Regions from separate parts of the Homo sapiens genome. Here region 1 is linked to region 2. Evidence: promoter capture Hi-C in 16 types of primary human blood cells and fetal thymus (Javierre and others, 2016). All regions are on one chromosome and are shown on one strand. The core of a region is centred on a gene start or on the middle of the fragment in contact, and the rest is flanking DNA. Distances in the headings are between cores, read along the strand shown.

Region 1 (6,438 bases), core at 1,035-3,534, 41 kb after region 2:
TATGGTAGTTAATAGATGCGATGAGGACCTCAGTTTCTATTAAAGAATGCTTCCAAGCCCCAGGTGACAGCCAAGATGGCTAAAGAAACAAGCCACCAATGTGGGAGACGAACACTTCACAGACCCTTGGTGAAGAGTGTGTGTAGGTGCGGTGGGGCAAGCAAAGCCCTCCTTCCTGGAGCCACCACCTCTTCAGCTAGCAGAGCCCAAGATCGTGCAGTGCCCTTCCCTCACTTTGCAGGTGAGAATCCCACCCTAACAGCCCTGGCCAACGAAGCCTGGATAAGAAACCAAACGAGCTGAGGGTCAGTTCAGAGTCCCTTCCATACCTCCCTCAAGCCTTCACTGGGCATGTCTCTTCCACGCCAAAGGCCTCCTGCAGGGTGAGGCCGTGTTCTCTATTTACTGGAGACTTGCATATCTGACATCCCCAGAGGTCTGAAGGACAATGAGAACCAGACCAAGCGTGACGGACCACTTGAGGCCAGGAGTTCGAGACCACCCTGGCCAAAATGGTGAACTCCCATCTTTACTAAAATTACAAAAATTAGCTGGGTGTGGTGGTGGGCGCCTGTAGTCTCAGTACTCAGGAGGCTGAGGCAAGAGAATCGCTTGAGCCTGGGAGGCGATTGCAGTGAGCCGAGCTCAAGCCACTGCACTCCAGCCTGGGCAACAGAGCGAAATTCTGTCTCAAAAAAAAAAACAAAAAAAAAACACTAAAGTGAAAACTAAAATGTCCCATCCCGAGTGGTGTGGTGTAAAGTAGCATTAGAGATAAGACGTTTTAGTTTTCATTCAACTTTTTGGTTCTGTCCATTCTGAAAATGCTAAGTATCTGTTACCTTTACAGTGAATCCTAAAGAAAATGTGGTACTTAGACACAATGGAGTACTATTCAGCCATAAAAAAAGAATGAGATCCTATCATTTGCAAAAACATGGATGGAAGCGGAGATCGTTATGTTTAGTGAAATAAGCCAGGCACAGAAAGATAAATATTGCATGTTCTCAATTATTTGTGGTTATCTAAAAATCAAAACAACTGAACTCATGGACATAGAAAGTAGAAGGATGGTTACTTCTAGTGTAACCAAGGCTGGGAAGGGTAGTGGAGGGTGGGGATGCTTAATGGATACAAAAAAAACAGAATGAATAAGATCTAGTATTTGATCAAGCCACTGCACTCCAGCCTGGGCGACAAAGCGAGACTCCGTCTCAAAAAAAAAAAAAAAAAAAAAAAGATCTAGTATTTGACCGCACAACAGGGTGACTATAGTCAATATAATCTAATTGCACATTTTATTTATTTATTATTATTTTTTTTGAGACATAATCTCACTCTGTTACCCAGGCTAGAGTGCAGCGGCGTGATCTCGGCTCAATGCAACCTCCGCCTCCTGGGTTCAAGCGATTCTCCTGCCTCAGCTTCCCGAGTAGCTGAGATTACAGGTATGAGCCACCATGCCAGCCTAGTTTTCGTATGTTTAGTAGAGACGAAGTGTCCCCATGTTGGCCAGGCTGGTCTCAAATCCTTGACTTCAGGTGATCCGCCCGCCTTTGCCTCCCAAAGTGCTAGGATTACAGGCGTGAGTGAGCCACCGCGCCCGGCTGCACATTTAAAAATAATTCAAAGAGTATAATCATATTGTTTGTAACACAAAGGATAAATGCTTGAAGGGATGGAGACCCCCATTTTACATGTGATTATTACGAACTGCATGCCTGTATCAAAATCTCTCATATACGCCATAAATATATACACCTACTACGTACCCACAAAAATTAAAAAATTTTTAAAAATCTTAACAAATGTGATGCTGGTGGTAACTGTCACGCCCACAGAGGAGGTCTGTGAAAGCACCCAGGCACCCCCTCTCGCCCCGTGGAACCGCATCGCAAAGGTAGCTCACTGGCCCCGGGGCGGGTCCCTGGCCGACAAACCCGTAACTCACAGCAGTGACGCTTCCCGACGCCCCCCGGCCACATCCCCACAGGAACGCTACGGCGCACAGGGCATTACTGTGCCCCCACCACAACCACATAAAGAAAATGTGGGGGCTCGGTCCTCCAGTCACGCGGCGAGCAAGTGCAGCGCGGGACGCCCGAGCGCCGGGTCTAGGCGGGCTGCAGGTGCCGGCAAGTGCTGGGGCCGGGCCGCCGCGGAACCCACCTGTGCTGGGCCTCAGGCCTTGCGCCGCCCTCGGGCTGCCGTCGCCAACCCCCCCCAAACAGCTCGCCGCCACGCTCCCTCGCCGGGGCACCGCCCCCGGCACCCGCCCCGGAAGTAGTTGCGGGAGGGCGCGGAGCACGCCGGGAAGCTCGCGGGTCGGCACCGGGACAGCTCCCGGGCGCCGTGGAATGCACACGTCCCGCACCCGGACCTTCCGGTCAGCTTCCCGGCTCGCTGTCTGATGCCCGCGGTAGCCAATGAGCTAGTGGTGTTTGTCCTGCTCCGTCCCCGCCCTCCAGGGGAACCAATCCCATTGCAGGAGAGGCAGGACGCGCAAAGGCCCGAAAGAGGAGCTGGGCGGGGTGGGGGGAAGGCGGAGGCAGTCTAGTAATGTAAAGCTCCGCTGAGAGGGAGAGTGCTGAAGAAGGGGACAGCCTCTGTACCTGCGGCGCGGCCCGAGGGGCGGACGCGAGCGGAGTGACGCGCTGGAGGCTGTTTATAGCGCTGTCAGGACAGCGCGGGGAGTGGAGGCAGAGGCCTGAGGTGAGGGGCCTCGGGCCTGCTGCGCCTGCAGGGAGTTGAACAAAACGCGGGGAAATACGGGCTGGGGGTGGGTGAGAGGAGGAGCGATGGGCTTTCCACTTCCACAGCTTTAAAATTTAAAAGCTCGACCCGGGAGGCTGTTGGCGTCTGGTTGCCATAACAACCGGCAGCCTCGTGGCAGGCCGGCTGGGGGCGGGGCTCTGAGAACCGGGGCGGGGCTGTGGCGGGGCTAACAGGCTGCAGCTGAGAAACCCACCCCGAGACGGAGCCGGAAGGCCGTTATTCAGAGGCGGCTCCGAGCCTCCCCTTCGCCTTCTGGATGCTCTGAGCTCCTCAACTTGGCGTTCAGGGCCCTGCATTGTCTGGTCCGTTTTCACCGGAGAGTCCAGCAACTGACACTTTCTTCCCTTAAACCTGTTGGGCGGTTCATTCCTTTGAGCTACTGTACATGCTCTTCCTTCTGCCGGTAATGCCGTTCCCTCCCCTATTGTCTTGTCCGCCTGAAGGGTTTATCAGAGTCTCTGGAGGCCCTCTTCATCCCGACGATTCTGTTGCCCTAAGAAATACTGTGCCCTGAATTGCGGAACAGAGCTCTAGTTACAAAAAACACCCGCTGGCTGTGTGCACCAGATGCGTCCCCAACCCGCTGCTCCCAGTTCAGAGTGCACCAAGCACCTGCCCTATTCCCAGAAGTACAGAGGAAGCAAGCAGCCCCCAATTCACATCTCCTGCCGCTGCCCTGATTGGGGATGAACGGGCACTGACTGCAGGGCCAAAGCCACAGCGGCCTCTCGAGCTGCAGAGTTCTCCTGACACTGGCTCTAGAGGACCCTCACCCCCCAGCTCTCAAGCTCAAGCTCCCCAGCCCCCTGAATAACAGGACCATCTCCTTTAAGACTCTAAGATATAAATGCAGGGGCTGGTCAGAGTAGTGACTCCAAAAAAAAAAAAAAATCACTTAGTGACTCCAAACTGTCAGCCAGGCGCGATGGCACATGCCTGTAATCCCAGCACTTTGGGAGGCTGAGGCAAGAGGATCACTTGAGGCCAGGAGTTTGAGACCAGCCTGGGCAACAGGGAGACTCCATCTCTACAAAAAATAAAAATGTTAGCCAGATGTGGTGGTACACACCTGTAGTCCCAGTTATTCAGGAGGCTGAGGTGGGAGGATCACTTGAGCTCAGGAGGCCGAGGCTTCAGTGAGCTATCATTGTACCACTGCACTCTAGCCTGGGCGACAAAGCCAGACCCTGTCTCCAAAACAAAAAAGCAAGGTGTCTTCTGTTCCTTGGTAAAGGGCAGTAAAGGGTAGTAGGACTTGAAATTCCCCCTGATTCAGAGTCCACTGTTGCTATTTACTAAACACCCTGAGCCTATGAAATGAAGAGAATAGTTATGCTATATGGGGTATATATAAAATATACCTATATATCATTATATATCGTACATATGGCATTCTATATAACATGTACATATATCTACATAGGTATATTTATATCAATACATATATTTGTATATTATTATGTATATATCACTATATACATTATATACCTGCAGGCTCCACATGTGTGCATGAGTGGGAACACACACACACACGTACACACACAGTGCCTGGCACTAACAGGAGCTTGCATAACTAGAAGGAAACTGAGGCAGGTGGTGAGGCCTGCCAGCCTGTTTGGTCTCCTACAGCTGGTAGAGCAGCCCCTGCTCTCCTGACCTTCAGTGGCCCGGACCCTCTTCCATCACCCTGTGTACCCCACAGAGCTCCCCGGATTATGGTGCACTGAGAAGGCATCTGGAAGCCTGGGCCCTCATGGCATCCAACGATAAAGGCATGGCACCCTCGCTGGGCTCTCCCTGGGCCTCCCAGATGGGGCCCTGGGATGCCATCCTCAAGGCTGTCAAAGACCAGCTCCCGTCTCTGGACTCAGACTCCCCTTTGGTAAGCAAGAACTCTCTCCCTGGATGCCTTGTCCTTCCTACCAGAGCAGGCATGACGCTGGCCAGGACAGCTTTGGAGCACTTCTCTGAAGACTTTTCCTGCTGACCTGTGCAGTTTGTTGTCATTTTACTTTAAATCGCATGGCCAGACTCAAAGTTGTGTTTTCTGGGTGCCTATTTCCTTCTTTACTCTTTCTTCTGCCTTGATTGTCATCTCTGAGCATGGGTATTGGTGCTCAGCATCTTGGGAGACCCTTTCAGTGGAGTTTTTGGTGCTGACTTGGAACCCAGGTCAATTTGATGCAGAAGCTCTGTCCTTTCCATTCTGCTATTCTCCACTCTCTCGTGCCAGGACAGGGCCAGAACACCCACTGAGAATGCACAATTCCAGTGCATTGTGATAAGCCTTCGAGGGATTCTGCATTTGTGGTTTGGGGTCCCTGAAATGGCTCTCAAAGACGCTCAGACCAATAGCCCTAGGTGCAGGCATAAGACCCTGCTAAAGATGCTCCTGGCGGGGGCTGCTCAGTGCACAGGTTGGCACTGGGCGTTAAGAGACAGTATGAGGGTTTTAAAAGGAACGGGCAGGGTTTGGGTCCTACCTGGGCACCAGCAACAGAGCTTCAGGGACCTCAGACGTCATCCAGTGCATGACGAGGCTAAGGAGAACCTAAGGGGACCCCACGCCTCAGTGCTCAGGGTGTTTTCACACCTTCAGTCTCATTTGAGAGTATGAGCCCCAACCCCTTCAAGAAGACAAACTAAGCTGTGTAAGTGATGGCTCAGGGTCACAGGGGATGGGGAGGGCTGGACCCTGCTCTTTCAGCTACCACCTCACTGCCCTGTTCATGTCACGAGGCATTAATGAAGCACCTGCTGTATGCGAGGTACTTGCAGAACCAGGAGCCCCAGTCTCACCTCCACGAGGTTGTGCTGCCAAGCCCATTTCTAAACGGTGGCAAGAAGCCGCGCACAGCAAGGCTGACTGGGAGAGAACCGGATCTCCCCCAGGCTCCTGAGCAGCAGGGCTGGACGGGCTGGATGGGCTGGGCGGGCTGGGCTGGAAGTGAGAGTGGAGAGTGGAGAGCGGGGGTGGCTAGGCCCTCAGGGCTCTGCCTGCTGCCTTGTCCTCCAAAAGCCCTCTCATTTGTCCACAGTCGGACTATGGGGAAGAGGAGCTGTTCATCTTCCAGCGAAACCAAACCTCCCTGATTCCAGACCTGTCGGAGGAGCTGGCTGAAGATCCTGCCGATGGCGACAAGTCCAGGGCCTGGGTCGCTGCAGCTGAAGAGTCCCTTCCCGAGGTCTGTGGGACACAGAAGAGTATACGCCTGTGTGTGTGCGATGTTAGTCTAAACTGACTGGTCTAAACCACTGTTCTAGCATTTCCACGATATGCTAGAACATGGTCCTTTTTTTTTTCCCCCATGTACAACCCAAGGTATTCAGATGCCCAACATCTAACCTCCACGCACCTCCCTCTCCTGGGGAGCCCGGCACCTTAGGGCTGGCATGCACGCTTGATTTTCCATCCGATTTTGACCCTTCTCTTCTTCTTGATCGCTCCTATCCTGTTCTCTACCATGGCATCCTGAATAGCTTCTGGCCATTGTCACAACTGCTTGTCCTAATTGTCTCTCCCTTAACCCAGCTGGCTTCATGGCTACCTGGCTCATCCCAGCACCTGGCGAGTACACAGGAACTCTGGTTTACTAAACTGCTAAACTACACTGCTACAGGCTACAGTGGGGAGTGGGAGGGAGGAAGATGGCCCATCAGTGC
Region 2 (6,753 bases), core at 1,365-3,864:
TTATAGTAATAAAATCATGCAGCAATATCCTGTCTGCTCCTTCCTCCGGGTGCAGCCCTCAGGATTGTGGCTGTTTCCTGACCCGGAGTTTTGCCGCTGGGTGGTTGGCGGTGGCTCCCGCACCGTGGCAGCTCCACGGCCTCTGCCTGGCTTCCCTCTGGGGTCAGGGCAGTGAGCAAGGTGAGGGCTAACGAGAACGGGCAGCTCCCAGCCATCCCTGTCAGGGCTAGTTGTCTGGTTGGAGGGAAGCCACACCCTCCAGATTGGGCTCTCTCGTGAACAGGTGGTTGGGGAGCCCAGGGCCTCCAGGTTTGTGAGTAGTCGCTCCGGTCCCCATCTCTAGTCCTGATCATCTCAAGGCATTTGCTGAGCACCTGCTGTGCGTCAGTGGAGGCAGAAGAGCTGAGGCCCCGGCCCTGGCCCCGGGCGCCTGCCTTCCAGGCAGTGAGATGCCCAGCAGCTAATCAGAATCCTGCCAGGTTTGGTTACTATTAGGAAGAAAGTCAGCATGGTGGTGAGATGAACCCGTACAAGGTCTCATTTAACCGGGTGGCAGGGAGGGCCTCTCTGAGGAGACTTAAACAGCCCTGAGGGCTGAGGAGGAGCTGGCCCTGGAAGAGTGTTCCAGGTGGCAGGAGTGAGCCTGATGTGTCCCCTGGGGACGGAGCCCCTGGCTGGAGTGAAGGGTGCTGGATAGATACTGAAGAGCTTGTAGGGGCTGCTGGAGTGTTTTTATAAGGGGGAGTCAGTTTTAAAAACAGGCTTCCAAGCGGAGAAGCAGTGCTAGCACCCTGCGGCTGGCGTGTGGAGGCCGGACGGTGGGAGCAGGTCTAGCTGCCCATGGTTGTGGGCTCGCAGGCTGGAGCCCGGCCCCAGGCCTCTGCACAGCCCCCGCTCCCCTGCCCAGGGAGTGGCCAGTGCCCCAGGGCACCCACCACACCACTGCCTACCACTCAGGGCCCCAGCTCCTTTGCGTGCAGGTCAAGCTGCCACCATGGCCCTTCTTTGAAGACTGTGAGGGTGGAGGGAAAGCCCGTGTTCTAGCCCATCAGTCCCTGCCCCGAGAAGGCTGCCACCCATGGGCCCTGCAGCTGCTCTGACCTGCCTGGGTCTGGCCCCATCCCAGTGTGGGTAGAGGGGTGCCCAGGGTGTCAGACGGGTGCTTGCATGGGCCAGATGGGCTCCCCCTCTGTACCTCCCAGAAGAGCCAGCGCTTGTATTGATGTCTGGTCTCGGGGAGGGGCTGCAGCAAGGGGAGCCTCTCCTCCTCTGCCCCTGCGTCCCACGGGCCCTGGGCGCTGGCTGGGCTTGGCTGCCTAGGGGTGGGGCCCTCTTTGGGTGAGAGGACCCTTCCCCTCGCTGCCCTCTCGCCTTCTCACATGGTCGCTCACTCTGGAATCTGGACTTCCCCTGCTGCTTGCAGCTGTCCCATGTGACCCCTGACCCACTGGTGGCCACAGGAGGAGAGAGAGGTGCCCTCTCTGGGTCCTTATTCTCCACATCTGAGGCCACCACGGACCTAACAGGTGAGTTTCCAATGCCCACCCTCTCCCTCTCTCTTCTCCTGCCTGCCTCCACTGAAGGCAGCCTTCTCTGTGCCAGCGAGCTCGGCCTCACTGCACGGCTCTCCCGAGGCTGTGCCCCAGCCCTGGGCACCCATGCTGTGAGTGCAGGCAGGGGGGTTCATGTGCTCAGCAAATCCATTCCCCTGGTGGGGAGGAAAGTGGCCCTGGGCCCTGCTGCTGGTGAGGTGAGCCTTGCCATCATGGAGTTCAGGGCACCTCGCTCTGCCTTGGGCTGTTTCGGATGCTTCTGAGCCCCAGAGACATCTCCAGTACAAACACAAGGTAAGTGGTAAGTACCTCAGGCCCTTGTGGAATCGGGATTCTGCCTCTGTCATCAACTGCCAGTTGTACTTAGGCAAGTTATGTCCCTCTCTGAGCTCCAAGTTCCTCATCGTAAATTGGGGAAACCCCTCTTCCCCCCACAGTACCTGGCACAGGGTGCCCGGCTTGGAGGATGCTGGAAAGGTCCAGCCCCGGAATTTAAGTCACTTTCTGCCCAGCAAGCTGGGTCCACAGAGCCCCAGAGCTCCCGGTCGTCCGCCCTGACCCAGCGTGGACTCGGGGACTGGGGCACTCAAGCCCTGCCAAGCCCTGCTCCCCGTGCTGTCCTGGATCGAGCCTGCCAGCAGGGTGGCTAGGTCGGGACAGCTGTCGTGCATGGCAGGCGAAGGCCATCTCCCTCCGGGCTTGGGTCCGGTGGCGCTGGCGGAGCAAGGCTCCGGGGCATCTCTGGCTCGTGTGGTCGTGCCAAGGGTGCCATTGCGGATGGACGGGGCCATGCGGGCCGGGTCGGCCTCCTGGGGAGAAACGGGTGGGCGCAAGGGGATCGGCGCCATCGAGGGTGGAGAAACCGCAGGGAATTTCGGCTGTCCGCTTTGGGGCGCCAAGGAAGATGTTCGTCGCCCACAATGTCAACCTTGAGCCACCACGGCACCGACCAGTCGTCTAGGCTCTCCCGTCGGAGGCGGGGCCGCCGCCCAGGGTGTGCGACTATTGGGTGACGGCTGACGCGCACCGCCCTCCTTTGCACACCGCCCGCAGCACCTCTCGACGACGCACCGCGGCGCTGCGAGGGGCTCGGTCCCGGGGCGCGCCGGCGATTGGCGGGGGAACCGGACCCGGGGGCGCGGCCGCCCGCGGATTGGCGAGGCACGGCGGGGGCGGGCTCGCGCATGCTCTTAAGTGGCAGCGGCGGGGACGGGGTCAGTGCCAAGATGTCGACGGCGGCGGTTCCGGAGCTGAAGCAGATCAGCCGGGTGGAGGCGATGCGCCTAGGGCCGGGCTGGAGCCACTCGTGCCACGCCATGCTGTACGCCGCCAACCCTGGGCAGCTCTTCGGCCGCATCCCCATGCGCTTCTCGGTGCTGGTGAGGACGGGCGAGGGCGCGGGCGAGGGTGCCGGCGCGGGCGGGCCCGGGCGGGGGCGTCCGTCGACCCCGCGGCTGTGACCCGCGCTCCCTTGCAGATGCAGATGCGTTTCGACGGGCTGCTGGGCTTCCCCGGGGGCTTCGTGGACCGGCGCTTCTGGTCGCTGGAGGACGGCCTGAACCGGGTGCTGGGCCTGGGCCTGGGCTGCCTGCGCCTCACCGAGGCCGACTACCTGAGCTCGCACCTGACCGAGGGCCCACACCGCGTCGTGGCGCACCTGTACGCGCGGCAGCTGACGCTGGAGCAGCTGCACGCCGTGGAGATCAGCGCGGTGCACTCGCGCGACCACGGCCTGGAGGTGGGGCCGCCGCCCGGGCCCCGCCCCCCGCCCCGGGGTTTGGCTCTGGCCCCGTGGAAGGCACCGATGGGTAACACGTCTCCTGAGGGTCCCCTGGCCGGGCTGGGTCGGGTGTCGCTGTCTCCAGCAATGGGGTGGGGAGAGGGGTCTGGGGCTGGGAGGCCGGGAAAGGAGGGGCGGGGGTGGGGGCCGGCGCTGGGGCTCCCTCAGGGCTGTGTTACATCCGCCTTGCTGCCTGCCATTGCCAATCCTGGGAGTGGGGGAGTGGGATCGGTGGGGAGGAAGGGATGGGGGAGGAGCGGGGATTGCTTGGGGAGTTGGGAAACTTGAGCACAGCGGGGGTTGTAAAACTTGGGAACCTCATGTTGGGCGTGAAGGCTCTTGGGATTTGTACTTTGTGGTCTGGAAGGGCTGGACTGCGGGTGTTCAGGCTTCGTTGGGTGGACGGGGGGAGCATGGGGTGCGGACCCCGGGGTGGGGTGGCCTGGGTACGAGGGGGGGGAGTGCATGGGGTCAGCCTCCACACTTGCTTGGGGAGGAGGGGGCTGCACTGCTCCGAGGGAGCTGGCTGGCTTCTGCCAGGCCCTGCGTGGGTCTCCCATTAAGTCCTTGGCAAAGCTGGCTGCTCATACCCTGGCCTCATAGCTTCCAGGCCCCTCCTGCTGGAGGTGCCATTGTGTGGCAGGCCTGGCCCCAACCCCTACCTCCTGTCTGCGCAGGTGCTGGGCCTCGTGCGGGTCCCGCTGTACACCCAGAAGGACCGAGTCGGAGGCTTCCCCAACTTCCTGAGCAACGCCTTCGTGAGCACGGCTAAGTGCCAGCTCCTCTTTGCCCTCAAGGTGCTCAACATGATGCCCGAGGAGAAGCTGGTTGAGGCCCTGGCTGCAGCCACCGAGAAGCAGAAGAAGGCCCTGGAGAAGTTGCTCCCGGCCTCCTCTTGAGGGCTGCCTGAGCTGGTGGCACCCTCCCCTGGGCCGGAAGACTGGGAATTCCTGCTAAGTGTGGCTTCTAGAGTGTTTGTGTGTACCCCGCTTCTGACTGCCTAGGGCGAGTGGGCATCCTGTCATCATCTCCACTGTCCCAAGCAGTCACTAGGTGGCGGCCGGGCCAGCTGGAACCCAGCCCATCCTCTCAGGCAGAGCAGGGTGGTCCGGGCACACTGGGCCTGCCTCTCCAGCCTCAGGATGCTCTTGTTTATTCTGGGCTCAGACCCTCCTCTTGTACGTCTCATCACAGCTGGTAGAGACCCAGGAGTGCCTGATTGTCCCACAGGGGTGGCGCACAGCTCTGGGACCACTCAGAAGATGGGATGTGTGGGTGGAGGATGCCTTGTCTCGGTCAGCTCATTCCTGCCTCCTTCCTGAGCCAGTTCAGGGCCTGGGGGAGAGCCAGCTTGGGGTAGGAAGTTAATAATACTGTTAATTTGGGTTGTTGTTGGATTTACTTTGCTAGATTTTCTCTTTCACCACGTGTGAACTGTGGGTGAGGTTTCAAAGTAGCTTCACCCCACGTGGCTTGGTTCCCAGGGACAGTCAGGGCCTCGGGGGCCCAGCTATGTACAACGAAGCTGTCGAAGGAGAAGACAATAAAGTCGCTCCGCAGCTGCTCTGTGTGTTTCTCAGCTGCCCTGTGTGTTTGTTTTGGTTCTGGATGGAACCAGCTCAGGCCCCCTGCCCTAGGTGGGGGAGGGAGGAGCTGCCCCAGCCAGGGGCACGTTTGTTCCCCAGTGTTTACTGGGGGCACTCCCAGCATGAATGCTGTGCCCATCAGCCAGGTTGGGGCGTCTGGGCCGAGACCTTCAGGGCAGGCTCCCCTTCCTGATCCTGGTGGCCCTGGCTGCACCTGGGCTGACCTGCTTTGCTTTGCAAACCCACCATTCCCCACTGTCTGCAAGCAGCTCCAGGGGATGGTGTAGAAGTGCAGGCTTACTGTGCAGAAGGACAGCAGCAGAGCCATCCCTCGTGGTCTCCTACAGCCCCACATCTGGAAAGACTCCAGCGGCATCGTCAGAAAATTTGCACAGCCCATGCCTGGCCCGGTGAGGGAGGCAGTGTGCCCAGCTCCATCTCAGAGCTCGGTGTGAGAGCAGCATGTCCCGGGGGAGGCCCTGTGCTACGGCGGGCTGGGGATGTTCTTGGCTCTCAAAGCCTTATCTTGAGTTGTCTGGGCTCCAGGAGCAAAAGACACACCCCTGAACAGCAGAGGACAGGGCAGTCAGGGTTGCTGCATTGGCCAGTGCCTCATGTCATGTGACCAGAACTGAGCCCTTCACTAGCTGTTCTTAAATTTTATTTTCCAAAAAATGGCATTTTCCAGGTGCCCCAGTCCTCATTCCTAAGGTCCCACCTCAGTTGGCACCTGTGCGTGTATATGGATACACTTTCCCCCCAGGGCCCTGCCTGGTATGGGCCAGGGCAGCCCATGAACTCTGGGCCTCACCACGAGGTTCTGGGTGAGGCCCTCGTCCCGCCTCAGTGCTGGCCCGAGCTGCCGAGCCAGGGCCGCAGCCCCCGTCTTGCCTCTGTCTGCCGGCTGCTCCCGGGGCCTGATCCTCTGGCCCCCACTGGGCCTGGGCTGCACATGGCAGCTACCTGCTCACTGTCCTCCTCACTCCCTGGCACACAGCTTCAGGGTGGACCAATCACCCAACGTCAGATTCTGAAAGAAAAAGCCCCGGTGAGAAGGGAGGGGGACAGGTGGGTGCATACCCACACCTGCAGCCGCCCAGACAGGCCCTGCTGCTCCCACCACGCGGGATCCAGGCTGGCAGACACTCACCGGCCCGCAGGCTAGGTCTCCCGCCACTTCTTCCCGTTCAGCACCTGCAGCTTCTCCAGGCTCTGGGTCACTAAGCACAGTGCTTGCCCTGAGGAATGATGACCTTGAGCCTCTCCCGGCCAGGCTCAGGAGGGCTGGGTGGTGCTGCCCCGGGGTCTCAGCTGCAGGATGTGACCTGCCCCTCACCCGTTATGGCCCCAGCCCCGAGGTCAGCCTTGGGGTAGAGAGACACAAACCCGCTTTCCCTGGAAAGGGGTCCCTTTGCCTCCCTCGGAAACAAAAGGAGCGCTCAGTCGTCTGGTCCCCGGAGACTCACCCATCTCACGGACACGGTCCTCCAGGGCTCCCGAGAGCTCGGGGAGGCTCATGGCCTGCAGGGACGCTTGCCAGCCCTTGGAGTCTGTGGTGCAGGTGCAGGGACCGAGTTAGCTGGGGGTCTGCGTCCCCACAGGCCCTGCTTTATTCTGAGCCCATGCAACCAGGAGAACCTGCTTGGATCAGAACCTCCCTACCCGCCTGACAGTGTCTAAGCAACCTCCCAAGGCCGAGGCAGGGAAGCCCTGTTGTGCCCTTCCTCCCACAGGCTGAGCAAACACTACGAGGCCCGGGTCAGCCCGAGAGAAGGCAAAGCTCTGCCGGTGGGGACCCGGGTCTGGGCCCTGGCTGGAGGCTACAGAAGTCACT

The links. The method cuts DNA at HindIII sites, captures the fragments that hold promoters and counts their contacts. A CHiCAGO score of 5 or more calls a contact.
Region 1: a contact is called between the fragment with the promoter of ANKS3 here and the fragment with the promoter of NUDT16L1 in region 2, in 4 of 17 cell types (erythroblasts, M1 macrophages, M0 macrophages and 1 more). The highest score is 6.6, in erythroblasts.

Annotation. Positions count from the first base shown.
Region 1 is chr16:4,731,987-4,738,424 of GRCh38, forward strand. It overlaps ANKS3 (ankyrin repeat and sterile alpha motif domain containing 3), which reads right to left and starts at 2,285. Exons shown (of 18, transcript NM_133450.4): 1 at 1,952-2,285. It overlaps DNAAF8 (dynein axonemal assembly factor 8), which reads left to right and starts at 2,551. Exons shown (of 10, transcript NM_139170.3): 1 at 2,551-2,712; 2 at 4,478-4,657; 3 at 5,814-5,960. The coding sequence starts at 4,529. RefSeq lists silencers at 2,071-2,130, 2,181-2,410. The HindIII fragment of the contact is 25,292 bases long and covers 1-6,438 here.
Region 2 is chr16:4,690,948-4,697,700 of GRCh38, forward strand. NUDT16L1 (nudix hydrolase 16 like 1) reads left to right here and starts at 2,615. Exons shown (of 3, transcript NM_032349.4): 1 at 2,615-2,932; 2 at 3,031-3,291; 3 at 4,011-4,897. The coding sequence starts at 2,780. The coding sequence ends at 4,232. It overlaps MGRN1 (mahogunin ring finger 1), which reads left to right. Exons shown (of 17, transcript NM_015246.4): 17 at 1-25. ANKS3 (ankyrin repeat and sterile alpha motif domain containing 3) reads right to left here. Exons shown (of 18, transcript NM_133450.4): 16 at 6,386-6,469; 17 at 6,070-6,157; 18 at 5,564-5,949. The coding sequence ends at 6,081. RefSeq lists enhancers at 2,186-2,275, 2,527-3,034, 3,035-3,542, 4,145-4,645 and silencers at 2,466-2,825, 2,936-3,435. The HindIII fragment of the contact is 13,448 bases long and covers 1-6,753 here.